Regions from separate parts of the Homo sapiens genome. Here regions 1 and 3 are each linked to region 2. Evidence: promoter capture Hi-C in human tissues and cell types (Jung and others, 2019). All regions are on one chromosome and are shown on one strand. Each heading gives the region's core, a stretch centred on a gene start or on the middle of the fragment in contact. The rest is flanking DNA. Distances are from core to core; before and after follow the strand shown.

Region 1 (2,801 bases), core at 212-2,711, 150 kb before region 2:
TTATGGTTAATCAAAAAATATATTTTTTTAAGAATGAGTTTATATTCTTTGGAGGGACATGGATGAAGCTGGAAACCATCATCCTCAGCAAACTAACATAGGAACAGAAAACCAGACACTGCATGTTCTCACTCATAAGTGGGAGTTGAACAATGAGAACACATGGACACAGAGAGGGGAACTTCACACACTGGGGCCTGTCAGGGAGTGGGGGGAAAAGGGAGGGAGAGCATTAGGACAAATACCTAATGCATACGGGGCTTAAAACCTAGATGACAGGTTGATAGGTACAGCAAACCACCATAGCACATGTATACCTATGTTAGCAAACCTGCACGTTCAGCACATGTATCCCATAACTTTAAAAAAGAAAGAAAGAAAGAAAAAAAATATTTTTTTACCAGCTGGGCATGGTGGCTCACATCTGTAATCCCAGCACTTTGGGAGGCCGAAGTGGTGGATCACTTGAGGTCAGAAGAGGAGTTTGAGACCAGCCTGGCCAACATGGTGAGACCCTATCTCTACTAAAAATACAAAAATTAGCTATGCGTGGTGGTGGAAGCCTATAATCACAGCTACTCGGGAGGGTGGAGGTTGCAGTGAGCTGAGATTGCACCACTGCACTCCAGCCTGGGAGCCAGAGCGAGACTCCGTCTCAAAAAAAAAGTATTTTTTATTTTTATTTTTTGAGATAGGGTCTCGTTCTGTTGCCCAGGCTGGAGTGTAGTGGTGTGATCATGGCTTACTGCAGCCTCAACCTCCCAGACTCAAGCAATCCTCCCATCCTAGCCTCCTGAGTAGCTGGGACTATAGGTGCACACAAGTACGCTTGGCAAATTTTTGTATTTTTTTGTGGAGACAGGGTTTTGCCATGTTGCCAAGGCTGGTCTCGAACTCCTGAGCTCAAGTAATCTGCCTGCCTTGGCCTCCCAAAGTGCTGGGATTACAGGCATGAGCCACCGTGGGTGGCCCAAAAAAGAAGCTTTTATTTAGCAAAGCAGAAACTGAAAGAAAAAGGAAGAAAGAAAACAAAAAGGCTTTTTATTACAAAAAAAATTATTTAGTATAAAGAGAGTTTAAAATAGACATCCTATCGGCTCATTTTAGCAACTTTGAGAAAATTGTGAAATATAAAATATTAAATAAATCCAGGGGATATATTTTGACTAGATAAAAATTAACCCTATATACCATAAACAAATTCAGAAGAAAAAAGTTAGGCTAGGAAAAAATATTTGTAATATTTTAAATTGAATTTTGTATTGAGGTTACTATATGTCACATGCAATTGTAAGAAATAATACAGTGAGATGCTGTGTACCCCTCACCCGGTTTCTCCTAACATGGAAGCATCTTGCAGAACCACAGATAATATCCCAACCAGGATATTGACAGTGATTTTATCTACCCACCTTTAGGCTGAGGTTCATTTTCTTTGCTTCTATAGATGTCTTGTTGATCCAGCACTGTCTTGCCTCCATTTTTATACCTTTGTCAAAAACTAGTTAGACTTGTGTGGTCTGTTTGTGGGCTCTGTTTTGTTCATTCATCTTTGTGCCTATCCCTCTGCCATTATCACTCTATCTTGATCACTGTAGCTTCATAGTAAGCCATAATGTTGGGTACAGTATTTCCTCCCACTTTATTCTCCTTTGTTAGACATGTTTTTAAGCAGTTCTAGGACCTGTGCCTTTCTGTATAAATTTTAGAAAAAGCTGTCTGTGACTACAAAAAATGATGCTGGGAATTTGATAGGAATTACATTAAACCTGTACTCAATTTGCAGAGATTTAACTTTTTTACTGTGTTGAGTCTTCTAGTCTTTTTTTTTTTTTTTTTTGGGACAGAGTCTTGCTCTGTCGCCCAGGCTAGAGTGCAGTGGTGCGATCTCAGCTCACTGCAAGCTCTGCCTCCCAGGTTCATGCCATTCTCCTGCCTCAGCCTCCTGAGTAGCTGGGACTACAGGTGCCCGCCAGCACGCCTGGCTAATTTTTTGTATTTTTAGTAGAGACGGGGTTTCACCGTGTTAGCCAGGATGGTTTTGATCTCCTGACCTCGTGATCTGCCCGCCTTGGCCTCCCAAAGTGCTGGGATTAGAGGCGTGAGCCACTGCACCCAGCTGAGTCTTCTAGTCTTTAAACATGGTATTCCTCTCCATTTATGAAACTTTGTTTAAACAAAGTAATAATATTTGGAATCCATAAAGAGCACCTACAAATCAATAAGGAAAAAAAGGCTGAAGAGCCATAGGAAACGGAGAAAAGGCTGATAACAGGTAATGTCCAGAAGAAATATAAATGGACATTAAGATTTGAAAAGAGACCAGGCACAGTGGCTCATGCCTGTAATCCCAGCACTTTGGGAGACTGAGGCAGGAGGATTGCTTGAGGTCAAGAGTTTGAGACCAGCCTGGGCAACATAGTGAGACCCTGTCTCTACAAAACATATAAAAATTAGCCAGGCATGGTGGTACAAGTCTGTAGTCCTAGCTACTTAGAAGGCTGAGGTGGGAGGATCGCTTGAGGCCAGGAGTTCAAGGCTACAGTGAGCTATGATTGCACCACTGCGGTCCAGCCTGGGTGACAGAGCGAGACCCCATTTCTTAAAAAAAAGTTGTGAAAAGACGTTCAGTTTTCCTGATGATCCAGGAAATGCAAGTTACAAGCTCCCATGTTTTGCCTTGTTAGATAGGTAAAAATTAAAAATCAATAATACTAGCAATTTTTGTTGGCCAGGCTGGTCTCGAACTTCTGACCTCAAGCGATCTGCCTGCTACAGCCAGGCTGGTCTTGAACTCCTGA
Region 2 (3,129 bases), core at 450-2,949:
AGAGTAGGCCAGAGGATGATGCAAAACAGGGCATTTGCAAGGTCTCAAGGCACCTCCCCTAAAGATACTAATCACAGAGGGAAAAACAGTAACTCTACAGTGCAGAAGCCTGAAGGAGCCGCTTTAACCAAGTGATCAAGGACAACATCGGCAGAAATGGGACATAACATCATGGACGCCTGCTATGGCACAGTGGGAAGAGCACAGGTCACCTCTGTGGCATCCTTGTCCCAAATGCATAACCTCCACCTAACCAGGAGAAAGCATCAGGCAGTCCTCAAAGGAGGGACATTTTTGGGAATAACTGGCCAGTATTCAAGTGTCAAGGTAACGATAGACAAAGATTGAAGAGCTGCCCCAGACTGCAAGGCACTAGGGAGACCTGCAACCAAATAGATATGGTCTCACATGGTCTGTAGATTAGTTAGTAGTCATGAACCAATGTGAATTTCTCAGATTAGATCACTGTACTGTGATTATATAAGATGTTAGTTTTGGGGAAAGCTGGGAGAAGGTTAAACAGGTACTATTTTTGCAAACTTTTTATAAGACTGAAATTATTTCAGAATAAAAAGTAAAGAAATAAACAGGTGGACTTTGGAGTCATTCTGCCTCTCCTCAAATCTGGCTACACTACTTACTAACTGTGTGACATTGGGCAAGTTACTTCATTTCTCCCCTCAGTTTCCTTATATGTAAAATGGGGATAAAAAGAATACCTATCTGGGAGGCCGAGGTAGGTGGATCACTTTAGCCCAGGAGTTTGAGACCAACCTGGGCAGCATGGTGAAACCCCATTTCTACAAAAAGTACAAAGATTAGCCAGGTGTGGTGGCACACGCCGTATTCCCAGCTACTTGGGAGACTGAGGTGGGAGGATCAAATGAGCCCAGGAGGCAGAGGCTGCTGTGAGCAGAGATCGCGCCACTGTACTCCAGCCTGGGTGACAGAGCAAGACCTTGTCTCAAAAAAAAAAAAAAAAAAGAAAAAATACCTATCATAGAGGGTTGTAATGAGAGTTAAATGTGTTAATACATGTGTAGTACTTAGAACTCTGCACCTTGGCCCAGAGCAAGGGCTATACTATTACGTGTAATTATCAGAGGAGACTGGCAGCATCTTCTGATCTTAGGGACATTTAATCTCTCTGTGTGTGTCTCACTGTGCTTCTGGAAAGTTTCTGATGCAGGCTCCTGGACTGATTCCTTCTCCAATCAATTACTCTGGCCTAAAAGCATTTCCCTTTCTACCAGCAGCCAGATAAAGCCAAATTCAGCACTAGGATCTGTAGTATTAACTTAAGTATTACCCACTTAATGGGACTTAAGTGTTACCTAGTTTTAGAGGAATAAGAATAACTTCTGTCTCACGTTGGGTTTCACTGAGGAGATGTCTGCATTGGAAAGACAGAGCTCATGTCACTAAAGAAGCTTCTGGGGCCAGTTTCCCTTAACCCCATTGCAGCCTGCAGACCTTTTGGGCTTGCAGGACCAACATCCCTGATTGGTTTGGGAGGGGCGTGTGTGTGTGGATCTGCCTCACAATGGCCTGTCTGAGCCCTTATCTGAGGTCACACGTTATCATTTGTTTGGCCAATAAGACTGTAGCACACACACCAGCTTCAGTCCCCACTTGGCCTTACCTTTGATGTCACAATCTGACCTGTGGGTATTAATCTGGTCACAGCTGCTCACAGACTAGATGGCAAGGTCCAGGGGACTAGCACAGGAAGATGTGGAAGAGAAGTGACCATCAACCCAAGATCAAAGCAGAGGATGGACCTCTGGTGGGCCAGTTCGAGGTTCTGGGTTCAGTTCCAGAACCTGCCATGCCACATCCTCTAGAGCTGTCAGAATTTGAGAGCTTCCCAGTGTTTCAGGACATTAGGCTTCACATCAGGGAAGTGGGAGCTCAATTGGTCAAGAAAGTCAATGCCGTCTTTCAGCTGGACATCACCAAAAATGGGAAGACCATTTTGCGGTGGACCATTGATCTGAAGAATGGTTCTGGGGACATGTATCCGGGACCTGCCAGGCTCCCAGCAGACACTGTCTTTACAATCCCGGAGTCTGTCTTTATGGAGCTGGTTTTGGGCAAAATGAACCCGCAGAAGGCTTTCCTTGCCGGAAAGTTCAAAGTGAGTGGCAAGGTTCTGCTTAGCTGGAAGCTGGAAAGGGTTTTCAAAGACTGGGCTAAATTTTAAGCATGCAAAAATACCAAGGAAGAACTTCTCTTCGATGATAATGTCGAGTGGAAATCATGCTTAATCTGAAGATTAAAGTAAAAAGTATCCAATATTTTTACTCAAATTCTTCCTATTCAAGTTTAATTGATTTTCCTGTTGATGGGTAAATTTTCAGGGAGGGTTCTGAAGCAGTAAAAAGCGTTGTAGTGCATCAATTAGAATCTTTGTCTTTTTCTCTTTTTTTAGCTCCATTTATGCCCTTTATGCTCCATTTATGCCAGGGTGAGAGCCACGTGTAAAGAAATGGGTGATTATGATCATTGGAATTAAATACTCCAATGATTGTGTTCTTGAGACATTTTTCCTTTTCTAAAAAAGTTTGATGTTTTGGGGAAAGAAGTGATAACTATCATTGTGCAGGTGTGCATTCTGCATGGTAACTTGATTCCATGAGGAAACTTTACTATGAGACTGTGGGGTGCTAAGGGAATGGGGCACCACAGGTCTGTGGGTGGAACCCAGGCAATAGAGGGGATGGTGCTGTTGGTGTATTATAATTTCTGATGGTTTCAATTCCAAGAAACTTGAAGGGCTTGGGAGGTGTTCTAGGCCAGTGGTTCTTAACTGGAGCATGCATCAGAATCACCGGAAAGGTTGGTTAAAGTCTGGATTGCTGGGCTCCATCTCAGAGCTTCTACTCAGGAAATCTGGGCTGGAGAGAATGCACATTTCTAACAAGTTCCCAGGGGATGCTGATGGCACCACCCTTAGAGAATTCCAGCTCTGCTTCACTTCATGCCAAAGCTCTCAGTATTGACTGTAACTATTCTATTCTAGGCCAATGAGATGGTGCCATTAATTAAAGGATCTCCCAGAGACAGACCCCACAGCCCTCTGTGAGCCATTTATAAAGTATCCATGCTGTCAGGAGCTTGTGCATTGAA
Region 3 (3,139 bases), core at 372-2,871, 180 kb after region 2:
CCACCTCCTTCTGCCAGGAGACTGGGCGATTTCCCAGGCCAAGTGTCTGCATGAGTTATACATATGCCTTGCTGATGCTGTTGTTGAAGAGAGAGGAAGATTTTTGGTAGTAAACAAGGAAAGATGAAATGAAGGGAGGGATGGCAAGGGGTGGTTCCCTGCCCAGCCTCTGAGACTGCTTAAAATTCCCAGGGGGAGAGCCAGAGACAAAAGGCAATAGAACTTGTTTACACAAGGTGTTTTGAGATGCTGAGCACAAGCATCCATACTTCAAGGTCCAGGCAAAGAGGTGCAGCACAGAATAGGGGAGCAAGGCATCCTGTTCTGCTCCGGCACCTTGGGAATCAGGGTTTGGGCAGCTCTGGGAGGAGGGATTTACAAGAGTGTGCTCACGGAGGGCACTGATATTGATGGCCAAGGACCATGACAAGGGCCTGCAATAGAACATGGGAATATTTGTGCCTTTACATCTGTAAAACACCAGCTGGGAACATTCCAAAATAGTGGGAGGAGATGAGGGAGGACCTGTGTCCCTGCATCGCCAGGTGCAGCCTTGGAGCTGGGACAGGTATATGATGTGAGTATGTCCTCATCGTGTTCATAGTCACGGGTGTTTGGGGAGGGTAATAGAAGGTTAAAGATACAGTCACAATCATAGCCATTTTTGGTAAATTGCAGTGGCAGTCATGTCTGTGTGTATGTGGCTAAAAAGTGAAAGACAAAAGTTGAGTGGGTGAGTGTGTAAGACTGACATTTATACCAAGTACCTGAGTCATTCTGAAGCAGGTGGCCTACCACATGGCCTTGTTGATTAAAAAAAAAAGACCACTCTTCCATGACATGTCTGCTACACTGAGAATCCTGTCATTTCTGTGGCTGGGATTTGAATCTCAGCAGGAGAAGAGGAGTTGGGAATTTTTAACTGAAAAGAGGCCATATGGCTTCAGTGTTTCAATATGGAAGATGTCTCCTAGAGACATCCTGGGGACATTGTAGCAGTCCTGGACCTCTCCAGAAGGTGGTCACCATTTCATGGCATGATTTTTTAACAACATTCACAGGAAATTTATAATTCCTTCAAGGAAAATTATGAGACTTCTAAATGCTACTGTGTCCAATATATTTTTATCATTCAAAAAAGATTTTTTCTCATTTAGCAAAATGCATGTTGACTTTTGAAAAATCAAAGAAAAATTTGAATAAGCAAATAAGATAAAATCCCTTTACATCTTAACACTCAGATATATCCAATATTAATAGTATATATACATAAAAGACACAAAATAATAAATCATAAGTGCCTGCATTTCTCCCCTCCTTTTCTGAGAAGGGATGTCTTTATTATTCTGGGTAGAGAGATTGGTGGAAAAGAAATCTGGACAAGCTGAGAGAGACCAAGTTGATCTATACAGGAAAGGGCATGGAGATACCAGAAGGAAGAAAAATAGGGAAGGGGAGGAATTTGGAAGAGAAGGGGGAGGGGGTGCAGGGAGAGAGAAGAGGAGAAGGAAGAGAAGAGAGTAGTGAGGAAGAAAGGCAGAAAAGCTGGGAGTTTTGGGGAATGGGAAAGATCAAAAAGAGAATAGGAGGATATCCCAATAGATGTAGTACTGAGTAGAATTTTAAGGAAAATATGGCAAAATATGATTATTAAAGAAATATTTGTGGCCAGGCACGGTGGCTCATGCCTGTAATCCCAGCACTTTGGGAGGCCTAGGCGGGCAGACCACAAGGTCAGGAGTTCGAGACCAGCCTGACCTACATGGTGAAACTCCCTCTGTACTAAAAATACAAAATTAGCTGGGCCTGGTGGTGCATGCCTGTAAACCCAGCTATTCAGGAGGCTGAGGCAGGAGAATCATTTGAACCCAGGAGGCAGATGTTGCAGTGAGCTGAGATCGCACCATTGCAAGCCAGCCTAGGCAAGAAGAGCAAAAAACTCCGTCTCAAAAAAAAAAAAAAAAAAGAAAAAAAAGAAATATTTGTTAAACACACCATCAGAAAATTTATTAACATACATTACCCTTCAGTTCTGGCTTGATGATTGGAGTTGTATTAAAGCCTGAAGATGACCCAGTATTATGACCTGCCATTTTTTACTTAACAACATGTGTAGAACATAACCTTTAATGGTTACATAACATTCCACTGCATGAAAGAATGTACTATAATTTATTTAATTCATTCCTCATTGGTGATTGGGATTATTTCTTTTTTTTTGGTATGATTCTAAGCAATATACCAATGATGAATAACCTTATAAAAAATCTTCATGCACATGTATGATGATTTACGTATAGGATGACTTCCTTTGGATACATTTCTTAAAGTGGATTTACTGAGCCAAAGGATTATAAAATATTATAGCTTTTAATACTCATTGCTGGACTGTCTTACAGAAAACTTAACTAACTCTTCTCCCATTGTGAGTATAGCTCCTCATCTATTGATTCTAAACCATCTTCCTTTGCATTGTAACAATATCCTGAGAGTAAGTCAGCCAGAATGTAAGCTCCGGAAAGGCAGCAGTTCTCTCTGACTTTACATAACATGGACGGGAGCTCAATACACACCTTTGAATGAATGAATGATTGACGTGCTGGGTGGCTGGCTGGCTGGGATTGGAGTACTCAAGGGCAGGGTTTCTATTTATCCGAAGCCCTCTAATGTCTGGTACACTGCCAGGCACAAAGTAGGTATCTAATGCTAATACTCTCAGGAAGTTGGTTTTGGTCCAGCTATATTGCCATCTGGGAGTCAGTAATACTTTTTAATCTAAGAAAGTGGATGGTTGACTTGAAAATGTCTGAATTCAGAAGAAGTCTACTGCCCCAAGAATGGGTTATATTTCCTGGAGGATTGTCTACCAATATTTAGTACAGCATCCATGCTAATGACTTCTGTTGATAAGTTTCTCTTGGGGTAGGCCCAATCTGAGTAAATCTTTGCTGTCTTCAGATAACAGACCAAGCAACCTCTTGGACATTGCTTTAAAATTCTGTGTTGTGAAGATTGAAGGACAGAACGGATGGGAGGCAACTAGCGCAGTGCCTGGCACAGAGTTGCCCCTCAAAAATGGTGCCTGTTACTGTGAGTAAGTCCATCACTCATCAGTGTTGCCTGGCCTCATCCATTTAAG

What was found. The method cuts DNA at HindIII sites, captures the fragments that hold promoters and counts their contacts. A contact is called where the count stands out against the background at its distance.
Region 1: a fragment that was not itself captured here is called in contact with the fragment with the promoter of SCP2D1 in region 2 in 3 of the 25 tissues and cell types used here (bladder, dorsolateral prefrontal cortex and liver).
Region 3: a fragment that was not itself captured here is called in contact with the fragment with the promoter of SCP2D1 in region 2 in 2 of the 25 tissues and cell types used here (spleen and stomach).

Annotation. Positions count from the first base shown.
Region 1 is chr20:18,659,550-18,662,350 of GRCh38, forward strand. The region is part of intron 4 of DTD1 (D-aminoacyl-tRNA deacylase 1); the gene reads left to right. Among named protein-coding and RNA genes, the nearest start is that of DTD1-AS1, 38 kb to the right of the region's middle. The HindIII fragment of the contact is 7,579 bases long and covers 1-2,801 here.
Region 2 is chr20:18,812,084-18,815,212 of GRCh38, forward strand. It overlaps SCP2D1 (SCP2 sterol binding domain containing 1), which reads left to right and starts at 1,700. Exons shown (of 1, transcript NM_178483.3): 1 at 1,700-2,295. The coding sequence starts at 1,733. The coding sequence ends at 2,203. All of the region lies in intron 2 of SCP2D1-AS1 (SCP2D1 antisense RNA 1), which reads right to left. The HindIII fragment of the contact is 11,706 bases long and covers 1-3,129 here.
Region 3 is chr20:18,994,916-18,998,054 of GRCh38, forward strand. No RefSeq gene overlaps it. Among named protein-coding and RNA genes, the nearest start is that of SCP2D1-AS1, 170 kb to the left of the region's middle. The HindIII fragment of the contact is 7,902 bases long and covers 1-3,139 here.